Linked DNA regions of Homo sapiens: region 2 is linked to region 1. The links are contacts of gene promoters, found by promoter capture Hi-C in human tissues and cell types (Jung and others, 2019). All regions are on one chromosome and are shown on one strand. Each heading gives the region's core, a stretch centred on a gene start or on the middle of the fragment in contact. The rest is flanking DNA. Distances are from core to core; before and after follow the strand shown.

Region 1 (6,559 bases), core at 2,023-4,522:
TACAACAAAAATTGGGCCAGAAGTATATCTCCCATGATGCCCTACAGCAGAGATGAGGCTAAAACGACATTTTCTGAGATGCTCTGTATTATAATTGAGGATAATTTCACCTTTCCCATAATTCCCTACAACATATTGAGGCTAGGACTGCATTGCCTATGAAACTCTATGGCAGAGATTGAAGGTTAGGATTATATATCCCATGATGCCCTACAGTGGGGATCAGAGGATAGAAATACTTATTCCATGATGCCCTCCAGCAGATATTGAGGCTAGGGACAAATTTCTCACGTCCTATACCATAGCTTGTGATCAGGACCTCATTGTTAACGGCTCTGAAGTTGTTGTTCAGGAATCTTTGCTTGCAAGAAATAAAATCTGTTTGTGCTGACTTAAGCAAAAACGGTGTTATTGAAAGTTTAGAAACCAGGCAAGAGCTAGGTCTCCGAGTCTCACCAGGGACAGGCAACAATTGAAAAGCTGTGTGAAATAAAGGTTGTCTCTCTCTTGCAGAATCTTAATCACCCCAAATATGAATCTGGCCCCAGGGGTATCTGCCAGCCATCTTGCTACAGGAGGGGAGCCATGCATCCTTAGGACAGAGATTGACAGACCTCGCCAAAGCCAGCCATAGAAGGACTTTTTGTTATGTGTGAACCAGTTCTCTTTCTCTCAAACCAGTTGGGTTGCACTTGCTGTCACTTGCACTAAATCCCTAATGGACAGGGTACCCTGAAGTAGGATGGGGACAGGACCACTATTCTATTTATTATTATTATTATTATTATTATTATTATTATTATTATTATTTAGACTGAGTCTCATTCTGTCACCCAGGCTGGAGTGCAGTGGCATGATCTTAGCTCACTGCAACCTCTGCCTCCCAAGTTCAGGGGATTCTCATGCCTCAGCCTTCCGACCAGCTGGGATTACAGGCACGTGCCACCACGCCTTGCTAATTTTTTTTTTTTTTTTTGGTAAAGATGGTGTTTCACCATGTTGGCCGGTTGGTCAGGCTGGTCTCAAACTCCTGACCTCAAGTGATCGGCCCACCTTGGCCTCCCAAAGTGCTGGGATTACAGGTGTGAGCCAACGCGCCCGTCAGGACCACTACTCTTGTGATGTCTTCACATGGAATGGTGGGACTTAAGGATGACAGGTGAGAACCAAACCAACATCTCCCAAGGTTCCCCTTCAGCTGGAGCAGGAGACATCTGTCAGAGCACAGAGTGAGCGGGCCTATTGGCTCCTGCGGGAAAAGGCAACTACTAGTTACCCCTTGGACCAGTATTCCAAAGGCAGATCAAACATTCCTCTCCCATCTAGCAAAAGTCACAGAATGTGAGCCCTGGAAAGAGGATTAGAGACTATCTCTTCCCAAGTCTACAGAAGCTGGGAAGCTGAGGACTGAAAAAGAAGGAAGTTGCTCAGGGCTATGGATCTGGGGACACAGGGGCAGTTAGAAGCTTGGGCTCTCAGGACAGAGAGGATTGCTGGAGCCATCGTCCTGGGGACACAGGAGTTGATAGGAGCTTGGACCCTGAGGACAGAGAGGATGCTGGGAGCCATGGTCCTGCTTCACAGGGGTTGATGGGAGCTTGGACCTGAAGGACAGAGAGGATGCTGGGAGCCGTGGTCCTGAGGACACAGGAGTTGATGGGAGCTTGGACCCTGAGGACAGAGAAGACACTGGGAGCCATGGTCCTGGGACACAAGGGTTGATGGTAGCTATGGTTTTGAGGTCAGAAAGGATACTGGGAGCTGGGTACTGAGGACAGAAAGGGTGTGTGAAGCTGAAGTCCCTTGTGGGACTGGATGTAAAATTTTTTAGTCGGAATAAAAAGTAAGGATTTTCAGCCAGGCATGGTGGCTCACGCCTGTAATCCAGCACTTTGGGAGGCCAGACAGATGGATCACCTGAGGTAAGGAGTTCAAGACCAGCCTGGCCAGCATGGCAAAACTCCGTCTCTACTAAAAATATAAAAATTAGCTAGGCATGGTGGCGGGCGCCTGTAATCTCAGCTACTCGGGAGGCTGAGGCAGGAGAATCACTGGAACCTGGGAGGCAGAGGTTGCAGTGAGTCGAGATCGTGCCACTGCACTCCAGCCTGGGCAACAGAGCGAGACTCCGTCTGGGCGGGGAGGGGGGAGGGGGGAAGGAAAGATGTTCATAATTGGCACTTCTGGACCTCAGTTTGCCTGACAAATGGGCATGAGAGAGGTCGAGGCCTTCTTTCCATGGTTTCTCACTCTTTCTGGGTCCCATAGGTAATGATCCCGCATCAGGTCTACAGGGTGTCACAGAAGTGGGCTCAGGGAAACCCACTCCCAGGAGGGAGAAGGGACCTAAGTCTGGAGGGGTGAGTCACCCTCAAAGATGGGGAGAGAGGAAGGGCAGAGGCAAATACATGCAGAGAGAGGGAGAGAGGCTGGGGCAGGGAGACAGCAGGGAGGAGAGGGGACGCCAGGGCTTGGAAGGTGTTCACAGGAGCCTCTCCCTCCTGGGACCCAGGATTCAGGCTTCCTTCCAGTTAGTTCACTTTCAGGGGGCCCCTCCCGGAGAATGACGCGGAAACACGGGGTTTTCAGGTCAGGACAGGAGAGAGGGAGGGAGGGAACTGACCCCACCCCACTCCTGAGCCCCAGCCTCGCCCTGCCCTGGGAGATCCTTGACCTGCCTCGACCTCCGGACCCTCCGGACCTCCAGCTGCAGCCTCCCCTGTCCCGGTGGCTCAGCTCACAGCCTCTCGCTAGACTCCAGACACCCACCTGCCCGCAGCACGCCTCTCACACTCACCTTTCCCACGTCGCACTCCCTCCCTTACGCTCCCCCGTCACGCTGGCCACGCTCTCCCTTCGCACACACCGCACCCCACGACGCCCGCGCCCCCACCCTCGCACAGCCTCCAGCAACACCCTGCCACCCTCCCCTCCGCGCAGCGCAAGCACCCTGCATGCCAGCAACTCCGCACCCTCGCGCGCAGCACCTGGGCCCGCACGCAGCACCCTCACCCAACACCCTCCATTTCCCGCGCTCACCGAGATCCCCCACCTGCTCCCACGCCGCTGTCGCCCTCCCGCGCACCCCTTCCCGCCCTCCTCACCCCTCTCCTCTCCAGCTTTCGCACCCCGCACCGTTCCCCCACCGTGCCGTCCCCCCGATTGTCTCCGGGCCTCTCCTCCGTCTCCCCCTCCCCTCCCCGGCCCCGCCCCGGCCTCGGCGCCCCGCCCCCGGGCGGGCAGGGGGCGGGGCGCGGGGGGCGGGGCGGGCGGCGCGGGCGGTGCAGGTGCCGGGCCGGGAGCGAGCGGCGGCGGCGGCGGCGGCGGCACCATGGGCCGGGCCCGGCGCTTCCAGTGGCCGCTGCTGCTGCTGTGGGCGGCCGCGGCGGGGCCAGGTAGGGTCGGGGGCCGGGGTCGGCCGGCCGGGCTGGGGCGGGGGGCGCGCTGTGGTGACAGCCCGGCAGCCTCGGGGCCGCAGAGGCCGAACAATGCGCGCGGGGCCGGGCCGGGCCCCCTCCCCGGGACAAAGCGCAGCGCGGGCCGGGAGCCGGGAGCGACGAGCGGGGGAGGGGGCGCGGGGCCCGGCCGCCGTGCCGCAGCCCCCCCACCCGCGCAGGCTGGATCCCGGCGGGGACAAAGGGCCCGAGACCCCCCTACACACACAAGTCCGCCCTCCCCAGGCCGGTCCCGCTGTCCTTCTGTCCAGTCTCTGCGTCCCTCTGTCCGCCCGTCTCTGAACCCCCCCGTCTGGCTCCTCGTCCCCCTACCCTTGTCCTCTATCCCTCAGTCTCGAAGTCCTGTCCCTCCTTCTGTCTGTCTCCCTCTCTTCTTGCCTCGGTGTTCCTCATCTATTCTGTCTTTGTCCCCTACCTCTGTCCCCTGGTCTCTGTCCCCTTTTCCTGGGTCACTCTGTCCCCTCCATCATCCTGTCTATTCTCTTTCCCCCGGATTTCTGCCCTCCCTCTCTGCCCCTATTCTTGGTCCCTGTCTCTGTCTCGCTGTCACCCTTGTTTTTCTGTCCCTTTTTCTCTGTCCCCTATCTGCCCCATCCCCTTGTCTCTGTCCCCTGTCTTTCTGTCACTCGTTTCTCTAACCCTTTCTGTCACCTGTCTCTTTCCCCCTTCTCTGTCCCACTATCTCCATCCCTGTCTTTCTGCTGTGCCTCCTCTCTCTACGCTTACAGCCTCCATCCCGGGATCTCCCATTCCCATCCTACCTTCCTCCCTCTCTCTATCCCTCTGTGCCCCTGAAGAGGAATTCAGTCAGGCAGGGCATTCTAAAGAGCCCTGGAGGGGAACATCTGTGTGCATGTGTGTGGGGAAGTGAGAATGGGGGACCTTGGCGTGTAGGCACACACGTGGATTCAGCGAATGCCTCTCCAAACCCTGCTCACCCATTCACACACCCAGGCTTGACTCACAGAGAAGCCCCTGTCCAGGACATCCAGGGAGCCATCCACATACCCTCATCACACACTGTGAGAAGCTGGAGACCCCCGAGGTTGGGTGACCCTGAGAATGGGGACAAGGTCAGGAAATGTCACCCACACACACTCTCACACTGTGTAAGTCTTGAACCTGCCACGGGTCACCCCTCCCTGGTGGATAAGGCCACTTTTGGAAGGAACAGAGGATTGGAAGGTGGCTAGGCAGAAGCAGGAGGGCTGGGTGTTCGGCAGAGATTGGTGAGAGGAGTTATAACCAGGTGGCATGGGGCTGGCGGCCTGGGCTTAAATCTTGGCTCTTGCCATTTGCCATCGCAGCCAATGGTAAACACCTTCCTCTCTCCAGGCTTCTGTTTCTCTTTCTGTAAAGTGAGGATGTTGAACTCAGTGACATGAAAGGGAACGCCAGCTCAGACCGTGAAGGGGTTTCTGGCAAGTTGAGTGCGGTTACATGTTCCCCACTCCAGGGTTTGAGGCAGAGCCATCCTCACCTCGGCCAGGATGAGGGGCAAAGCTGTCCTCTCACTGTCTTTCTTTCTTCTCTAGTCTTCTGTGACTGCTTTAGAACTTGCATCATTACCTCCTTTCTTTACAACAGACATGCCACAATTTCCCAGATGAGAACTTTGGTACCTCAGTGACATTTCCATCAATTTTAATTTATCTTTATTTTTTAGGCTAAACACCAGGCTCATAGAATCCTGGAACTAATGAATCCAGTAAATAAAGAACCTGATGGTACTTTAGAATGCTGACATCTACAGGATTCTAGAATCCAGAAGGCTTTAGAATCTTGACACCTTTAAAGTTCTAGAACCGTGATGGTGTTAGCATGCTAGCATCTTGACGTCTTAAAAATCGTGAAATCTTGATGTCTTGGAGTTCCTGGATCTTGACATCTATGACATTTAGAATCCTGACAGCTTAGAATCATCAGACTTTGAATTCTCAGGATCAGAATATAGCTTAAGGTGACCACCCGCCCCGTGCAAAAGCCTTTCTCTGGTGCTTCTGGGAGTTAGGTCTACAGCCCTGTCCCTCGTTTGATTTCCAAGTCACTGCTTCCTGGCACCCTAACCCTCTCTGTAAACTTTCTCTAAAGTAAATAGTATGTGGCTTTTACCAGTAGAAACTGAGCTTGGTGTCATGGGAAGAGCTCTCAGCTGGGAGCTAAGGAACTTGGGTCCAAGCCTTACCCAGGACCCTTTAGTATAATTTTGCATCAGTCCTTGTCCCTCTCTGGGCCTTACTTTCCCGTTCTGTAAAGCATGGGGTAGGAGGCTGTAGCATGTGGTCTTGGAGGGCCCTTCCTGCTCTCCTTTCCATTGGATATTTCTCAGTGGCCTTGGCTACCACATTTTAGGGGGTATCTGTTGTTCCCACATTTCTCTCTTAGTCACTTCTTCCTCTCTCACCTTGCCCAGCCAGCAGGAATCGGGGGAGATGGGGTGCATTTGCGCCATTTTAAAAACATGTTCTCTCTCTCCTGGTTCATTCATCTTCTGAGCATAGCAGAAGAAGATGAGATTTATGCCCAAAGAAGGATCCAGGGTGGGCAGAGGAGAGAAAGCAAGAGGGAGGGATGGGTTGCCTGCCCAGGGATGCACCCAGGCAGAAATGGGACCCGCAGCCAGAAACTGGGTAGAACAGAAAGGAGGAGAGGAAACAGATATCCAATACAAAGAAAGAATAGAGAGGCTATTAGGAGTTGAGGGGTCTTGTGGAGGGGGCAGTTGTTGGTCCCTAAATAATGTTTCCTTCCCAGGGTGACTCACTTTTTCCTGCTAAAATTCTGACCAGCCACTCTTGAGAATAGGGGGACCCTCCCTCCATTGTGAGTCACCCCAAGGAACAGGTTTTGGAGGTTTCTATCACTGACCCCCCCACCCACCCACCCATGAGCCAGGCGCCTGTGTCCCCAGAGCCTGGGGGTGGGGGTCAGGTTCTGCAGTGGATTCCAAGACCTTAGACACAGCAGGGCTGGGGCCTAAGGCTGGGTTAATGTCGTGCGAGCCTGGCCTGTCCCCATCTTGGAGAACACAAAGGCAGCTTTCTCTCTCTGGGAGGGGTGGGGGGTGGCCTGGAGACAGTCAGACCCGCCAGCATCCAATGGCC
Region 2 (6,559 bases), core at 1,208-3,707, 140 kb after region 1:
GGACTGGACTCCTGGGTCTGAGGAAGGAAGGGCTGGGGGACTGGACTCCTGGGTCTGAGGGAGGAGGGGCTGGGGGTCTGGGCTCCTGGGTCTGAGGGAAGAGGGGCTGGGGGTCTGGACTCCTGGGTCTGAGGGAGGAGGGGCTGGGGTACTGGACTCCTGGGTCTGAGGGAAGGAGTGGGCTCAGGACCAAAACTCTAGTTTCCTGAAGAGGAAAGGTTCCTAGGATTTCTGGGTCTCCAGTGGGGCCTGGAACTCTACCTAGGCCCCTTAGTTTTAACCTTGATTTCTTCCTTTCAGACTTTGCTGTTCCAGCCAACATGCGCTGTGGGGTGCAGACACCCACTGCCTGATCTCACTTCTGTCAGATGCTCCCATCCACTATTAATGCACTAGGTGGGAGGAGAGGGCGGCAATGACACTGCACCTCTCCTTTCCCACCGCATTCCCTGGAGCTCCCTAAATAAAACTTTTTTTAACGTGAGTCTGACTTCTACCTATTTTCTGGGGGAACCAATTGGGTTTCTGGGCCGAAAGGGGTGGGGTTCTGGTCCTATGGAGAGGCCAGGGAGCCTGCAAGATTTGTTTTCTTTTTCTTTTCTTTTTTTTTTTGAGATGGAGTCTCCCTCCATTGCCCAGGCTGGAGTGCAGTGGCACGATCTCGGCTCACTGCAACCTCTGCCTCCCGGGTTCAAGCGATTCTCCTGCATCAGCTTCCCAAGTAGCTGGGACTACAGGCGCGTGCCACCATGCCCGGCTAATTTTTTCATATTTTTAGTAGAGACAGGGTTTGACCATGTTAGCCAATATGATCTTGATCTCCTGACCTCGTGATCCACCAGCCTCGGCCTCCCAAAGTGCTGGGATTACAGGTGTGAGCCACCGCGCCCAGCCCGGGAGCCCACAAGATTTCTAACTCACAAGATCAAAAACAAACACAGCTATCTGGGGCAGGTCTTCTCATCACCTTGGATTAGAACACCGGCTTGCTTTTGAGCCACTTCCCACTTAGCCCTGGGGTAAGTTACTTCACTTCTCTAGGCCTCAGTTTTCTTATCTCTAAAATGGAAGGAATAATAATGGGGTGTTGTGATGCTCTGATGAGTCAATGTGTGTGAGTGCCTGGCACATGGCCTATCAGTGTTCACCATTAAAGTTACTATCATTTAGAATGATCTTTTGGGTACTTCCTGGCTTGTAGTGACAGTATACGCAATGGTTAAGAACATGGACTTTTGAGAGAATGAAGCCTGCATTTTACCACTTACAACATGTGTAGATGTTGGCTACATTTTTTTTTTTTTTTCTGAGATGGGGTCTTACTCTGTCGCCCAGGCTGGAGTGCAGTGGCACATTCAAGACTCACTGCAGCCTCGACCTCCTGGGCTCGAGATATCCTCCTGCCTCAGCCTCTGGAGTAGCTGAGATGACAGGTGTGTGCCACCACGCCTGGCATAATTTTTGTATTTTTAGTAGAGATGGGGTTTCTCCATGTTGCCCAGGCTGGCCTTGAACTCCTGATCTCAAGCAATCCACCTGCCTCGGCTTCCCAAAGTGCTGGGATTACAGGCCTGAGCCTCTGTGCCCAGCCAACCTTGGGTGCATTTGTCCTCCTCAGCTTGTATCCCCAAGTGTAAAATGGAGATAGTAGGCCAGGAGCGGTGGCTCACGCCTGTAATCTCAACACTTTGGGAGGCTGAGGCAGGCAGGTTGTTTGAGCCCAGGAGTTCAAGATCAGCCTGGGCAACCTGGAGAAACCCAGTCTCTACTAAAAAAAAAGAAATGGAGGTAGTAATCACTTTCTCGCTGGACAGCTTTGAGGGTGAAATTAAATGACTGGGTATAAAGTGTTTCACACAGCTCTTGACTTCTAATCATCCCTTTTCATATACCAGTTATTTTCCTGTTTTCATTTTCCTGTTTTCGCCCAGAGAGGAAAGGGTCTGGCTGAGACCTTTAACCTCTGCCCTCCACCCCATAGCAAAGTTGTGGGGGGGTGGCGGTACACTTCCCTCAGTCTCTGGGCAGGTGTCTGACTCAGTTCAGGGCACCCCTTCCCCTTGTCCAGCTCCCCAAACCGGTCAGGGCCCTTCTGAAGGGCTCATTAGAGGGGAGACGTCCCCATCTCCATTCCTGCCTTCCTTTCTGAACTCCCAAGGTCTGGACATTAGAGAGGCTCCCATACAGAGGTGGCCAAGACTCCTCCAGGGGGGCAGGAATGAGGGGCTCGAGGGAGACTGGGAGGTCGCGATGCTGAGTTCCACGAGGGTGGGGCCGGGCCGGGGCCGGTGGGGCCGGGATGGCCGGATGCCGAGGCCACGGGTGGGGCAAGCCCGTGGCTCCCTCCTCCCTCGGGAGCTGTTGGACCTGTTGTCCCCCCTCCACTTCCGGGCTGCTGGGGAGGGGGACCGGGCGGCCTCTCTCCTCCCTCTTCCCCTGCCACCTGTCTCATAGGCAGAAGCGGCCGTGCCCAGCGCGCAGAGCGGAGCGCGCCGAAGCCTGAGCTCGTGAGGGGGCCGAGGCTGTGGGGAGGTGGCAGTTGGACTTCGGAATCTCAAGGACTCCGACTCCTGGCTTGTTCAGAGAAGGAGAGCCCCGACTCCTGGATCCCTGGGTGAGGCGGCGTGGGCACGGTTGCCCTGCACAGTGGGGTCGGGACTAAGACTACGGGGCTCCGGGAAGGATGGGGCGGGAGCCGAACTGCTGAGTCTCGGAGGGAGAAGATGGGTCGCTCTAAGCGAATCCAAGAGATTGTAGGGGGCTGCTGGGAGGGTACAAGGCCTGACACCTAGAGATGAGGGAGGGGAGGCGGGGTCGAAGAGGTCAGTAGGGGGCGTGCTACGACCCGGACTCAAATTCCGGTCCCGTCTCCGGTGGCGTGTCGCCTTGGAGCCATCAAGCCCCGCCTCTGGAAACTTCAGGACACGCCTCCGTAACGCTCAGTTCCATCCTTTGAACTCTTAGGCCCCGCCTCCTTGGGGGGGGGTCTCCGCGCCCCGGAGCAGACGCGAGCGGCGCTCAGCCGTCCTAGGCCCCGCCCCCGGAGCTTCTGGTCCCGCCCACCCCGCAGGAGTCCCAGCGGCCATGGGGACGCGAAGCAGCCCCGAGGAGGGGACCCCGCCGCCGCTGGTCCCGGAATGCGACGTGGAGGTCCAGCCCCAGGGCCATCCCGAGGAGTCCCGGGAACAGGAGGCATCCGAAGTCCTGGCGGAACCTTCGAGCCGCGGGGGAGCTGAGCAGCAGGCAGAGGAAGAAGAAGTGGGAGAAGGCAGCAGCACTGAGAGCAGCCGCGACGCGGTGAGGGGCCCGAGGGCGACAGCGCGGGGGGCTTGGACCGACGGGGACCCAAACAGGTGGCCAGACAGGTAGACAGGTAGAGGGAAACCAGAAAGACAGAGACCCGGAGACAGGGAGAGAGACCGAGTGATAGCAGAGACTACTGAGAGAGAGATACACCAGGACACGGAGCCAGAGAGGCAGAGGCACAGACAGACAGAAACCAGATACAGAGACAGAAACCAGATAGAGCCACGGGGAGGCCCCAAGAACGGAGATAGACCCAAACGGGCGACAGAGACAGAGAGACTAGTATAGAGGAACCAGATAGGTGGCTCACGCCTGTAATCCCAGCACTTGGGGAGGCCGAGGGGAGGATTGCTTAAGCCCAGGAGTTCGAGACAAGTCTGGGCAACATAGCAAATCCCTGTCTCTAGAGAAAAAAAAAATACAAAAATTGTCCAAGCGCAGTGCCGCGTGCCTGTAATCCCAGCTACTCGGGAGGCTGAGGCAGGAGGATCGCTTGAGCCCAGGAGTTGTAGGCTGCGGTGAACTATGACTGCGCCACTGCACCCCAGCCTGGGACAAAGCAGAACCTATCTCTAAAAATGAGAGAGAGAGAGAGAGAGAGAGAGAGAGAGAGAGACCAGATAGACAGACAGGAGAGACTACAGAACAGAGAGAACCAAACGAGTAAGAGATGCAGAGAGATCAAGAAGCCAGACAGAGACCCAGAGACATGGAGACTGAGAGACAAAGACCCCAAAAAGACAGAGACACAGTGAGACTAGAGTCAGAGAGAGGGGAATCGAGACAGAGGGAAACCCAGAAATAAATGGCAGAGATGCTCAGAGAAACAAATAGACAAAAACCTCGAGAGAGGGACATACTCCGAGGAAGAAAGATCTAGTGATTCTAGTGGACAGATCTAGTGGACAGATACCGAATCTGAGAGACTGGGGTCAGGTGGAGAGACAGAGACAGATCCAGGCACTACAAGAAAGTGACGCCAAGAGAATAGGACCTGATAGAGAAAAAGAAACACCTTTCATAAGTCGGCTTTACACCTGCTCACCCTCCATACGGTACTGCAAGCCTCTGTGGTCCGTGTGGTTGGGTGGTCACGGGACTTGCACCCTCCCCCACTCCGACCTTAAATACAGGGGTCTGAGGCCGGGCGCGGTGGCTTATGCCTGTAATCGTAGCACTTTGGGAGGCCGAGGTGGGAGAATCCCTTGAGCCTAGGAGTTTGAGACCAGCCTGGGCAACATAGCATCGCCCCCTCTCTGCCAAAAAAAAAAAAAAAAAAAAAGAGCTTGGCGTGGCGGTGCGCGCCTGTAGTCACAGCTACCTAGGAGGATGAGGCAGAAGAATCGCTTGAGCGAGGGAGGTCGATGCTGCAGTGAGCCGTAATCGCGCCACTGCACTCCAGCCAGTGAGACCCTATCTCAGGACAAAAAAAAAAAAAAGATAAGAAAGAAAAAGAAAAGAGCCTGCGACAGATTATGGGAGTGGTGGTTGTGTTAGGTAAGTGGACTGATGGACTGAGACCCGCAGAGGGTGATGTTGGGTGGGGACCAGACCTACTTAGTGATTGCAGGGGGCGAGGCATCTCCACTTAACCACGCCCCCCTCAACTTCAGCCCGAGGCTACGCCTCCGATAGCTATGGCGGCCACACCTCCCGCATCCACCTCTTCGCGGGAAGGGGTGCGAGGGGCGGCGCGGCGCCTGCAAGGACAGCAGCTGGAGGCATTGACTCGTGTGGCCCTGATGGAGCAGCGAGTGAAGGAGCTACAGCGCCAGAGGAAGGAGCTGAGGATCGAGGTGAGGCTGCGGACCCCTTGGGAAGCCTGGCCCCAACTCAAGCGGAACCCGCAAAGCCGGACTCCCAGCTTTTTCCTCGGGTGGGATCAGATTTTAGGCCCTCCGCTCTTCCTCCCTCCAAATTCAGGTCCCTGGAGTCCATCCTCCCTTCGAATCCGGTAGTTCAGGCCCTGGGCCTCTTCCTTGGACCTAGGCGTCCGAGCCCCCAGCCCTGGCATTCTCTCCGCAGATGGAGGTGGAGGTGGCCTTGCTGCGGGGTGAGCTGGCTGGGGAGCGAGTGGCCGCTCGCCGGGAGGAGGAGCAGCTGCGGGAGCTGCTGGAGCAGCAGGCGGCCTCGGAGCAGCGCGGCCGCCAGCAGCGGGAACAGGTCTGTTTGGCTCACCGGGTCTTCATCAGCAGTGTCCTTCCTGGTCCATGGATGTTGGTGTGCTCCTAGCCACCTGCGCCCCGGGGTTGTCCCCATTCCCCAAAGGAAGACATTTGGGCTCCTGAGAGAGTGAGGGGCAGATGCCCCTCCTGGTTTTCCTTCTCCCTCCCTGGGCGAGATTTTTGGGGCTCTTCCTTTGTCCCCTGTCCGTTTGCTATTTAAATGTGGGTGTGTAAAAACTTCCAAACTGGCCGGAAGCAGTGGCTCACGCCTGTAATCATAGCACTTTGGGAGGCCGAGGCGGGCGGATTGCCTGAGCTCAGGAGTTTGAGACCAGCCTGGGCAACATGGCGAAACCCCGTCTCTGCTTAAAAATACAAAAATTAGCAGGGCGTGGTGGCGGGCGCCTGTAGTCCCAGCTACTTGGGAGGCTGAGGCAGGAGAATCGCTTGAATCCGGGAGATGGAGGTTGCAGTGAGCCAAGATCGCACCATTGCACTCCAGCAGCCTGCGTGACAAGAAGGAGACTCCGTCTCAAAAAAAAAAAAAAAAAAAAAAGAGAAAAAGAAAACTTCCAAACCCACCCCACAATAGTCAGGCAGCTCCCATGTCCTGTGCCCACCAGCTTCATCAATGATTAATATTCTTACATTCTTGTTTCATTATCTCCAATTTGTTCTCGTCCCCAGTTTTAAAAGCCAATCCCAGACATCATATGGTCTGTACATATGTTTAGAGTGTATCATTGACAGATAAGAAATCCTTTTAGGCTGGGCCAAGTGGCTCACACCTGTAATCCCAGTACTTGCGGGGTGGGGGGGGGGTACGGGGGGCGGGGCAAAGTGGGAGGATCGCTTGAGGCCAAGACTATGAGACCAGCCTGGCAATATTATAATAAGACACCGTTTCTGTGAAAAATAAAAATACAAAAATTAACCAGGCATGGTGGCATGTGCCTGTGGCCTCAGACTCAGAAGAGTGAGGTGGGAGGATCAATTGAGCCCAGAAGGTAGAGGCTGCAGTGAGCTGTGATTATAACATTGCACTCCAACCTGGGCGATAGAGCAAGACCCTGTCTCAAAAATAAAAA

The links. Contacts are between HindIII fragments. The study calls those that stand out against the background at their distance.
Region 2: a contact is called between the fragment with the promoter of PHLDB3 here and the fragment with the promoter of CADM4 in region 1, in 8 of the 25 tissues and cell types used here (IMR-90 fibroblasts, adrenal gland, aorta and 5 more).

Annotation. Positions count from the first base shown.
Region 1 is chr19:43,636,563-43,643,121 of GRCh38, reverse strand. CADM4 (cell adhesion molecule 4) reads left to right here and starts at 3,272. Exons shown (of 9, transcript NM_145296.2): 1 at 3,272-3,395. The coding sequence starts at 3,332. RefSeq lists a silencer at 3,249-3,388. The HindIII fragment of the contact is 16,381 bases long and covers 1-6,559 here.
Region 2 is chr19:43,500,644-43,507,202 of GRCh38, reverse strand. PHLDB3 (pleckstrin homology like domain family B member 3) reads left to right here and starts at 2,457. Exons shown (of 16, transcript NM_198850.4): 1 at 2,457-2,614; 2 at 3,071-3,297; 3 at 4,920-5,102; 4 at 5,332-5,469. The coding sequence starts at 3,085. It overlaps ETHE1 (ETHE1 persulfide dioxygenase), which reads left to right. Exons shown (of 7, transcript NM_014297.5): 7 at 301-484. The coding sequence ends at 353. RefSeq lists silencers at 2,261-2,320, 2,921-3,170 and an enhancer at 2,799-3,321. The HindIII fragment of the contact is 32,375 bases long and covers 1-6,559 here.